Regions from separate parts of the Homo sapiens genome. Here regions 1, 3 and 4 are each linked to region 2. Evidence: promoter capture Hi-C in 16 types of primary human blood cells and fetal thymus (Javierre and others, 2016). All regions are on one chromosome and are shown on one strand. Each heading gives the region's core, a stretch centred on a gene start or on the middle of the fragment in contact. The rest is flanking DNA. Distances are from core to core; before and after follow the strand shown. Region 1 overlaps BCAS3 (BCAS3 microtubule associated cell migration factor). Region 2 holds the start of TBX2 (T-box transcription factor 2). Region 3 overlaps BCAS3 (BCAS3 microtubule associated cell migration factor). Region 4 overlaps BCAS3 (BCAS3 microtubule associated cell migration factor).

Region 1 (2,700 bases), core at 99-2,598, 570 kb before region 2:
TCTTAGTAATATACATTTTGAAAATATAGATAATAGGTTAAAAGAGCTTAAAGCTTAACATAGGCCACCTTGTGCTTTCACCACATCTCCGAATCTCATGTGTGGCTTTATAAGATTTTGTGTCAGAGTATGCTGGTGTCCTAGTTTGTTCCTTGCACTGTAACAAAATACCACAAACTTGGTAATTTATAAATAATAATTATTTATAATAATTTATAAATATTATAATAATTTATAAATAATTATTTATAATAATTTATAAATAATTATTATTTATAATAATTTATAAATAACAGTTCTGGATGCTGGAAAGTCTGTGATCAAGGCAGTGGCAGGTTTGGTGTCTGGTGAAGAAGGCTCAGTCTTTGCTTCCAAGGTTGCACCTTGAACTCCATGTCCTCACATGGTGGAAGGGCAAAAAAGGGCCTAGGGTGTTCTCTGCAACCTCTTTTGTAAGGTTGCTAATCCCATTCATGAGATTGGGAAAGCTCTGCCCTCATGACTTAATCACCTCCTAAAGGCCCCACTTCTTAATACTATCTCTGGGGATTCAGTTTTTTTTTTTTTTTTTTGAGACGAAGTCTCGCACCGTCACCCAGGCTGGAGTGCAGTGGTGTGACCTCAGCTCACTGTAACCTCCGCCTCCCAGGTTCAAGCAATTCTCCTGCCTCAGCCTCCCAAGTAGCTGGGATTACAGGAGCCCGCCACCATGCCTGGCTAATTTTTTTTTGTATTTTTAGTAGAAACAGGGTTTCATTTTGTTGGCCAGGCTGGTCTCAAACTTCTGACCTCGTGATCCTCCTTCCTTGGCCTCCCAAAATGTTGAGATTACAGGCATGAGCCACCTCGTCTGGCTAGTTTTATTTTTGATTGATTAATTAATTAATTAATTAATTTTGAGACAGAGTGTCGCTCTGTTGCCCAGGCTGGAGCGCAGCGGTGTAATCTCGTCTTACTGCGGCCTTCACCTCCCGGTTTCAAGCAATTCTCAAGCCTCAGCCTCCTGAGTAGCTGGGGTTACATGAGTGCACCACCATGTGCAGCTAATTTTTTGTATTTTTAGTAGGGATGGGGTTTTGCCATGTTGCCTCAAATTCCTGGGCTCAAGTGATTCTCTCGTGTCGGCCTCTCAAAGTGCTGGGATTACAGGCGTGAGCCACCACTATAGCTGGTCCAATTCAAAAATTTAGCATATGAATTTTGGGGGACACATTCAGACCATTGCAGCTGGTAAGGTAAAAAAGAAGAAAATATTTGTGAAAGGTTTGCTTCTATACTGTCTGATTCTAAACTTAAGAATAAAAATTGGCCACATATTTATTAAAATGGGGTTCTCTCCCTAACCATTTTACTACCATATATTTCATGTAGCAATGTTGCAAAGAGGTATGTTTTCCATGAGCTACATCTAATTCTTGTCTTTCTTCTCATCTCTCCTGAGCTATTTGCCTGGAAATTTAACAGGAGTACTTAGAAATGGGACATAAAGAAAGATCACCAGAAGATAGTAGTCTATAATGTATATCTGAAGAAAGAAGCCCACAAAACAAATACTGGCATAATGATAACGTGGATGATATTAGGCCTTCAGTGGCAGCTTTTGCAATTTAACAGGAACTCTGCTTGTAGTGATATTTCTGTTTAATGGATACAAATATGATTTTGTATTTGATAATTTTTTTCATATGTAGGTTTAACGTAAGGTTTATACTCCATAATATTTATTGATATTCCTGAATCCATGGATGAAAATATAGAATAATGGAACTAACAAGGGTTTTGGAGTCACATAGACCTAGCTGTGAGTTACTAGCTGTGTAAACTAAATTACTCAACAGTTCTTAGGCTCACTTTCCTTATTTGTAAAGCAGTGCTTATATAAAACTGCTGTGATTGGTTCTTGTGTGAATTCAATGAGGCACTGTTTTCAAGTATTGATTACATCCTGATACATGTTAGGTGTGCCTCATACTATTTGGGTCAGGAAGGTATTAAGGATAGTTAGATATCACTCTTCACCAGGAATTTCTTTTCATTTATATTTATATACTTTCTTTGAGTGGGAGTTTTGCCTCTATGACTGTTCGAGAAATAGGGCTGTACCCAGCTTATCTGGTGCTTGTGCTACAGATTGGCCAGTCTTCATTGCCTAACCGAGTACTGCATCTAGAGGTCTTTACTTTCATTGGAAAATGGTAATGTGTTCATATTCCCAGTAGAAGCTCATATAGTATAAAGCTACATGTGTGTGTATTTTTGTGTGTGTCTTTATTGAGGTATATGGAAATATGATGAACGGCATATATTTAAAGTGTACAGTTTGATAAATTTTGACATCTGTATATGTCCATGAAGCCATCACATTCCAATCAAGATAATGAGCATATCCATCACCCACAATAGTTTTCTCATGTTTCTTTGTAATGCACCCTTCCTGTTCCTCCCCCTGTAGAAGAAGCGTGTTTCTATGTAATAAGTCTTCCCGAGTAGCAGTGCCATCTTCACTTTGTAATGAGGTTTTTTTGGGAAATACTTTGCTGTCACATAGTTCAAAGTGACTTTAGTATACAGTTAAAAATATAAAGGTAAAGGTATTGAGTTCAAAGTTGTTTTTTCTTCTGCTCTACAACTTAACCAAAAAGTAAAGCTTTCCATCTAGAACCAGTTCATAAAACAACTAAAAGGCTTGCAGTTTCTCTG
Region 2 (2,700 bases), core at 42-2,541:
TGTTCGCGCCCGAGCCCGATTGGAAGCAGGTGCGTGGTCGCTTCACTCTCCCCGTGCACACCTTGAGTTATAGCTCTCGCTGCGCACAGAGGGCACCACACGGGGCCCGACACACACACACACACACACACACACACACACACACACACACACACCATCACTTCATGGGGGGGAAACTGAGGCTGCCGGAAGACAGAAAACGAAGACTGATCACAGAAGAGGGGGCTTCAATCACAGGTGCTCGCAGACACCCCAACTCCCTCACGCGTTACTCAGCACTCCTTAACTTAGGAGACGTGCGCTTCCGAGAGATGAGAAGAAACTAAAAAAGTGGTTGGCAGGGCGAAGAGAGGAAGCCGGTATTTCGGAAGAAGGAGACTTTCGTCTCCGGTACCGGATAGGGCGAAAATTCGTTGGGTCGCGGGTGGAGAATCCGGGGTCCGCCCGCGCGGTGCCGCCCTGTGCTCAGCGAAAGGTGCGCTCACCTTCCTGGCCCCGAGGATCCGCTCCTCCCGGCCGCTGGAAAGCTCAGGGCGGGGCCCGGGCCTGCGGAGAACTCCAGGTTCCTTCCGAGTCTTCCGGTGAAGGCGGGCGCGGGTAGGGGGTCCCCGCGTTTCCCCAGCGCAAGGCCGCGTCCCGCTCCCGCCCGCGCCGGCCCCAGCAGGGCTCGGCCATGGCTCCACTCACCAGCTCCCGCCACCTGGGATCCGCTCCCGGACCTCGGCCGCCCGAGCCTCCCGACTCGCCCGCCCACCGGCCTCGCTTTCCAGTGCCTGCTGTCTCTTTCCGGGGCGCAGGGACCCCCAGGCGGCGCCACGACCCGGAGCTGGGTCGGAGGCCAGGCTGGGGCTCGGGCCAGAGCGGCCGGGCCTCTGGGCGCGGGAGAAGGAGGGCGCCCCCTCTCCGCTCGGGGTCGTGTCAATGCTTTGCACTTGGGGCCGGCGTGCGGCTGCGGGTCCTTCCCCAAGGCCCCGGGACCCGGGCTCCCCTCGCCTCAGGCCCTTTCGGCGGGTCAGGTCGGCCCTCCGCGCTCTCCAGTCCGGCGCAGGCAGCCGCAGGCGCGGGCGGGCGGTGGGGGCCGGGGCAGGAGGAGGGGTCTCGGGGCCCGGCGGCCCGTCATTGGTTAATATTTTATTCTGTTGACATGTTTTCTTACTGCTGAGGCTTCCGACACCTTCTCCCAGGCCCCCCCTCCCGGCCGGAGCTTGGCCTGAGCTGTCAAAACCCCGCCCCCGGAGACCCACAATTGGTCCAAAAAGCGTAAAATCAGCAATCAAGGGGGGCCTGGCTCGTTAGCGCAGGGGATCCGAGCTGGGCAGGACATGTGAGATAGTCACAGTTTTCCAGAGATCACGACAAGATCTAACCAGTCGCGCGTGGTCCCCGGCGCCGGAGCGGGCCAGCTCAGCCCGGCCCAGCCCGGCCCCGCGCAGAGCCCCCGCCGCCCCCGCGCACAGAGCCGGGTGCCCCTTGCGGTGCGCCGGACGGGAAGCCCCGAGGAGCAGCTGCTGCGCCCGCCACCCGGGTCGTCCGTCCACCGCGCGCGCCGCCGCCCGGGCCGGGGGTCCGAGCCGCGCGCCCCCGGCCCCGGCCCCGGCCCCCGGGCGCCTGGGCCGGATGTCCCGATGAGAGAGCCGGCGCTGGCGGCCAGCGCCATGGCTTACCACCCGTTCCACGCGCCACGGCCCGCCGACTTCCCCATGTCCGCCTTTCTGGCGGCGGCGCAGCCCTCCTTCTTCCCGGCACTCGCGCTGCCGCCCGGCGCGCTGGCCAAGCCGCTGCCCGACCCGGGCCTGGCGGGGGCGGCGGCCGCGGCGGCGGCGGCGGCAGCAGCGGCCGAGGCGGGGCTGCACGTCTCGGCACTGGGCCCGCACCCGCCCGCCGCGCATCTGCGCTCCCTCAAGAGCCTGGAGCCCGAGGACGAGGTGGAGGACGACCCCAAGGTGACGCTGGAGGCCAAGGAGCTGTGGGACCAGTTCCACAAGCTAGGCACGGAGATGGTCATCACCAAGTCCGGGAGGTAGGGCTGCCGGCCGGCTGGAAGGCGCGCGGGCGGGCGGGCGGGCTGGGGCACGGGACTGCACGGATCAGAGCAGAGCTGGGGACTCCCGGCTCCCGGCTCCCGGCTCCAGGTTCTGGCCCTGACGCCACGCTTCGCTCCCACGGACAACCAAGTTGACTTTTCTCGTTTGGCACCGGAGCGATTTTTTTTTAAAACAAAAACGCTAAAATCCTCCGAATGAAATAAAACGAAAACATACTGCTAAAGAATAGCCCCAACCGTTCTGAGTCCCAGCGCAGAGGAGGCCCCGCGGCTTGGCCCTGGCGGTCTCCTCCGCCCCGCGCTCTCGCTCTTCTGCGTCCGGGTCCGTCTCCGAGCTCGGGGGAAATTCAGCCTCTCTCAGACTCTGCTCCGACCCCGAAGCCCCTAGTGGGACCTGGGCCCAGCTAACCCCACGCTGGTTGCTCGGTTCCTGGCAGCGAGCCCCGGGTCAGCCGAGCCCTCCGCCTCACCGGGCTGGGAGCCCTTTCTCCACCGCGGGCATCCGAGCCCTGGACGCATCCGCCGCCCCAGGCCTTAAAGCCTGAAGAAAGCCACAGCCCCGGCCCCTCCACCCTTCGACTCAGCCACCGAGAATCCAGGCCTCGGGTTCACCCTCTTCCCCCGAACTGCACGGCCAGGATGTCTTATCAGGCTCT
Region 3 (2,700 bases), core at 169-2,668, 530 kb before region 2:
TCTGTATGTATATACACACATACACACACACACACCCCATAAGTACTTTCTCTTTGGTTCCATTGACTCTTAATAATGGTGCATTTTTGTGGCTGTGTGTGTGTTTCATTATTTGATATTTTCTGTCAAACGCTGTGTGTAGAGGAATAGTACAGACATTGGTAATTAGATATGGAAATGCCTTTTCTTCTATCAGGGCATTAAAAGGGTATTAAGTTGATATAACATGTAGGCAAGGTGGTCTGAGGCTTTAGTATAGTAACAGAACAGAAATGGAATTTACAATTGAGTAATTCTAAAATTTGATATTATCACCTTTATAAGGATATTATCTCTACCTTTTTGTGTATTCAGAGTACACATACACATATATAGCAAATTATCACTTATTAGTAAGAAGCAACCCAGTAAAATATATAGAGAAAAGTTTTTAACAGGCCCAGCTAGAAAAAAAAATTGCAAGGATCTAACAGTAGTCACTCATTAGAATTATTCTGCATCAGTAAATGAAATTGTTGTTTTTAAAGATGAACAAAATTAATAAAGCATGCATATGAAATAATACATTTTCCTTTTTTTATACTCATATTAGCATCTGTTGCTCAGATTTACCAGCTTCCAATTTTGAAAAATAAGCTATTAGTTTGTTAAATATTTAGTAACAATTATAATCTCTATTTGATTTTTTGAAGTAAATATTAAGCTTGGCTATTTATATTAATATGCTGCAAGGATAGCACAATATAAAGTGGTGGCTTTGGATGTATTTTAGGAATTTTGCTTTAAAAAAGTGTTTATAACTAAATTATTTTCTAATTATCTGTAAATCTTGGGCATTGAGAAAAATACTGCTTTTACAGATTGTTAGTGAATTTTACTATATTGAGTCAATCAGAAATGACTTATATTTATGAGTAGCAGTTGGGAAATTCATCCGCCATTTAAACTTAAAGTGATGGGTTACATAAATCCATTTTATCTTTAATACCATGACTAAAACATCACTGGAAAAACACTTTAGTAGATAGCCAACAATTTATTATCTTCTCCATTCTTTTTTTTTCATTTCCTTTTGAGACAGGATCTCACTATGTTGCCTAGGCTGGTCTCAATCTCCTGGGCTCAAGTGATTCTCCTGCCTCAGCCTCTTGAGTAGCTGGGATTACGGGTGTGCAACACTGTGCTGGGCTTGATCTTATCCATCTTTACTGTAGACTTATTCGATTCAAAAATAAATGAAAACAAAACTTTACTTTGTGTATTCATATTTTTAGAGACAAGATCTTGCTGTTGCCCAGGCTGGCGTGCAGTGGTGTGATCGTAGCTCCCTGCAGTCTTGACCTCCTGGGCTCAAGTGATCCTCCTGCCTCAGCCTCCTGAGTAACTAGGACTACAGGCTCACACCACCACACCTGGCTAGTTTATTTGTATTATTTCTTATAGAGACAGGGTCTTCCTTTGTTGCCCAGGCTGGTCTCAACCTCCTGGGCTCAAGTGATCCTTCTGCCTTGGCCTCCAGGAATGTTGGGATTGTAGGCATGAGCCACCATGCCTGGCTGAAACAAAACTATTAAAAGACAAACATTTTTTGAGGTGGTAGTTTTTTCTTCCATCACTTTTCTTCTAGTCATCTCTATCTTATTTATATATAGGATTTTGTGGTTTATATTTTTACACATTTTAAGAGGCAGAAGTTTCTAGCCTAAATATTATAGGAAATGTTTAATTTTAAAATTGTATTAGTAGGCACTTGTTTTCATCTAGATGATATAATGCATTTCTGATTCCACTTACAGAATTTCACATTCACTTTTTTTCTTTCTGTTTTTTTTCTCTCTCTAATTTTAGGATCCTTGTCGTAGTCTTGCAGGAGAAAATTGCTGCCTTTGATAGCTGTACTTTCACGAAGAAATTCTTTGTTACAAGTATGTACCAATTTTTTTTCCCTTCTTATGCCTTTGGGTTTATACTACTTACTTGACACAATCAGCAAACTAACTGTAATTTTCTCAACAGTACTTAATGTTTTCAATTTTGATGATTTTCTTGTGATTCTGTGGCTATTCTCATTGAGTAATATTCTTGTATGATATATATTTTCAACTTTCCAACACATTTTCTTTATATTACTAAGCAAGCTTTGTTGTGGGTTACCTCACTTTCTCCTTACATACTATCCTTGAGTTTGTGATTTAGTTTCATATAGCTGTTTCATACTTTCAAAGCAGTTGTTAAATTGCTTAACATACCGTACTTTTATACATTATACCTTTACATATGAGCAAAATTTGTTTCTACTAACATTAGTATCTGTCATTTAACCAAAAGGTGAAAAAAATATATTTTTCGAATAAGGACTTATATTTTAAAAGAGTGTTCAAAAATCTTCAATACTGTTAAATAAACTTATGTACTTATAAAGCTGTAAGCACAATTTCCTTTAAAACTTTTGTTTGTTTTTGTAAATTGATAATATTTGCAGCTTTTCTGTGGGAGTATTTGGCAGCTTGAGATTTTCTAATAGGAGAATTTGTGGTAAGTCCTCATTTGGGTCAACTTACAGATTTTCTGTATGATGGAAAAAAATGTAAACACATAAAGCCTTGGAAAATATATTGGCAGAATCAGTATAGAAGTTGGCACATTTTCAAAGAAAGCAATTTAGCAGTTTCGTATTACCAATTTTACTATAATTTCTCA
Region 4 (2,700 bases), core at 63-2,562, 550 kb before region 2:
AATCATAGCACATTGTATGTAGTCTTGAACTCCTGGGCTGAAGTGATCCTTCTGCCTCAACCTCCCAAGTAGCTGGGACTACAGGCGTGCTACCGTGCCTCGCTGATTTTTTATTTTTTGTAGAGATAGGGTCTTGCTACATTGCCCAGGATGGTCTTGAACTTCTGGGCTCAAGCAATCATCTCACCTTGGCCTCCAAAAGTGCTGGGATTAGAGACGGAACCCACTGCACTTGGTGCCTGGACTCCCCTATTCTTTGATACATCCACTTTCTCCCATCATTAACACATTAAATTAGTGTGGCTAGTACATTTGTTTCAGTCAGTGTGCTGATACTGATACAACTAATATCCATAGTTTATATTAAGTTTCACCCCTTGAGTTGTACATTGTGTGGCATTTGAGAAATGTATGATGCTCTGTACCCACTATTACAGTATCATAAAGATAGTTCCTCTGTCCTGAGAATTCCCTGTACTCTGCTTATTACTCCTTTTTTCCCTCCCCCTAACTCCTGGCACCACTGTTTTTTTTTTTTTTTTTTTTTTTTTTTTTGAGATGGAGTTTTTGCTCTTGTTGCCCAGGTTGGAGTGCAATGGCGTGATCTCGGCTCTCTGCAACCTCTGCCTCCTCAGTTCAAATGATTCTTCTGTCTCAGCCTCCTGAGAAGCTGGGATTACAGGCACCCGCCACCACACCCAGCTAATTTTTGTATTTTTAGTAGAGATGGGGTTTCATCATATTGGTCAGGCTGGTCTCGAACTCCTGACCTCAGGTAATCTGCCTGCCTCGGCTTCTGAAAGTGCTGGGATTAGAGGCGTGAGCCACTGCGCCCGGCCAATTTTAGACCTTTTCTGACAAGCTTCTTTTACTTAGCAATATGCATTCAGGGTTCCCTCATTTCTTTTTCTGGCTTGATGGCTCATTTCTTTTTGTTGCTGAATAATACTTTTATTAGCAACAAAGAATGAAATACTTAAGTGTAAAACAAGCAAAAGATCTATATGAGTAAAACAACAAAATACTGATACATGAAATAAAAAAATATAAATGTCATCTCTTCCTAAGTTGATCTATGCATTCAGTGCAATTCCTATAAAAATACAAGCAAGTTATTTTGTGGATATGTACTAAGTAATTCTAAAGTTTGTATGGAAAGGCAATGCTCCTAGAAGATAACATAGAAAATCTAGGTGACCTTGAGTTTTGGCGATGACCTCTTAAGTACAACACCGAAAGCGCAATCATAAATGAAAAAATCAGTAAGTTGGGCTTTATTAAAATTAAAAACTTTTGCTCCGTGAAAGATTATTTTAAGAGAGTGAGAAGATGGGCTGCAGATGGTGAGGAAATATTGGTGAAAGACACGTCTGACTAAAGAACTAAAAAACTCTTAAACCTGAACAGTAAGAAAATGAACAATCCTATTAAAAAATGAGCAAAAGGGTCTCAGCAGCTCGGGCTGCAGGAGGAGTGGCAGCAGCCAGGCAGCCCAGCTTCGCAAAGGCTCTCGGCATGCTGCGGCCCGCAGGCACCTGGCACACGTCCTCCCCGCCACCAGGATGCCCGAGAGGAAGGTCAGCTCCACCGAAGGGGCCGCCAAGGAAGAGGCCAAGAGGAGATCGCCGCGGTTGTCAGCTAAACTTGCTCCTGCAAAAATGGAAGCGAAGCCGAAAAAGGCAGCAGCAAAGCATTGAAACCACCATCTGTAAAGCTCTACATGTTCTTCACGGGGTGAATAATTTCTACCCAAAACTTGGGTTAAAGCTTGAAACGAGGAAGTACAAATAAAAGGGCAAAGGGGAGCAAAGGGAAAACAGGCTGAAAGAAACTAAAGAAGATTTACCTGCAGAAAAGGGGGAAATGAAAACTGAGGGGAGTCCAGCCTCTGATGAAGCAGGAGAGAAAGAAGCCAAGTCTGATTAATACCATATACCATGTCTTATCAGTGGTCCCTGTCTCCCTTCTTGTACAATCCAGAGGAATATTTTTATCAACTATTTTGTAAATGCAAGTTTTTTAGTAGCTCTAGAAACATTTTTAAGAAGGGAATCTCACCTCATCCCATTTTTTAAGTGTAAATGCTTTTTTTTAAGAGGTGAAATCATTTGCTGGTTGTTTATTTTTTGGTACAACCAGAAAATAGTGTGGGATATTGAATTATGGGAAGCTTTGACTGTCTTGGGTGTCAGCTTAACATTTCATAGATGGGGGATAGTTTTCATATCCTATAATACAAAGCATATTAAATGGCAATATGGAGTCAGTCCTGCATTTAATGTCTTGAACATTTTAAATTACTTCTATTCCCGTGGTTTTTTTTTTTATTATACTTTAAGTTTTAGGGTATGTGTGCACAATGTGCAGGTTAGTTACATATGTATACATGTGCCATGTTGGTGTGCTGCACCCATGTTGTTTTTTAGTAGAATTGTTTCCTAAAGAAAACCACTCTTTGATTATGGCTCTCCCTGTCAGAATTGTGTCCACTCTGTAACATCGTTGGTTGTGGTTGTCCTGTTTTCCTAATAACTTTGTTACTGTGCTGTGAAAGATTAAAAAATTGAATATGTAGTATACATGCTATTCAGTTGTGAATTGGTGGGATGTGTGTAACAGCTTATCAAATTGTGAAGATACTGGTACTTGATGTCCTCTTAAGGAAAATTTGCTTCCAAATTTAAGCTGGAAAGTCACTGG

Evidence for each region. The method cuts DNA at HindIII sites, captures the fragments that hold promoters and counts their contacts. A CHiCAGO score of 5 or more calls a contact.
Region 1: a fragment that was not itself captured here is called in contact with the fragment with the promoter of TBX2 in region 2 in 1 of 17 cell types (M2 macrophages); the score reaches 5.7 in M2 macrophages.
Region 3: a fragment that was not itself captured here is called in contact with the fragment with the promoter of TBX2 in region 2 in 1 of 17 cell types (megakaryocytes); the score reaches 6.1 in megakaryocytes.
Region 4: a contact is called between a fragment that was not itself captured here and the fragment with the promoter of TBX2 in region 2, in 2 of 17 cell types (M0 macrophages and megakaryocytes). The highest score is 5.4, in M0 macrophages.

Annotation. Positions count from the first base shown.
Region 1 is chr17:60,825,304-60,828,003 of GRCh38, forward strand. All of the region lies in intron 7 of BCAS3 (BCAS3 microtubule associated cell migration factor), which reads left to right. Among named protein-coding and RNA genes, the nearest start is that of BCAS3, 150 kb to the left of the region's middle. The HindIII fragment of the contact is 2,594 bases long and covers 52-2,645 here.
Region 2 is chr17:61,398,552-61,401,251 of GRCh38, forward strand. It overlaps TBX2 (T-box transcription factor 2), which reads left to right and starts at 1,292. Exons shown (of 7, transcript NM_005994.4): 1 at 1,292-2,020. The coding sequence starts at 1,626. TBX2-AS1 (TBX2 antisense RNA 1) reads right to left here and starts at 1,055. Exons shown (of 2, transcript NR_125751.1): 1 at 688-1,055. RefSeq lists promoters at 249-1,509, 1,129-1,376 and a cis regulatory region at 1,365-1,376. The HindIII fragment of the contact is 11,976 bases long and covers 1-2,700 here.
Region 3 is chr17:60,872,814-60,875,513 of GRCh38, forward strand. It overlaps BCAS3 (BCAS3 microtubule associated cell migration factor), which reads left to right. Exons shown (of 24, transcript NM_017679.5): 9 at 1,849-1,925. Among named protein-coding and RNA genes, the nearest start is that of BCAS3, 200 kb to the left of the region's middle. The HindIII fragment of the contact is 1,435 bases long and covers 702-2,136 here.
Region 4 is chr17:60,849,820-60,852,519 of GRCh38, forward strand. All of the region lies in intron 7 of BCAS3 (BCAS3 microtubule associated cell migration factor), which reads left to right. It also overlaps the pseudogene HMGN1P28. Among named protein-coding and RNA genes, the nearest start is that of BCAS3, 170 kb to the left of the region's middle. The HindIII fragment of the contact is 905 bases long and covers 861-1,765 here.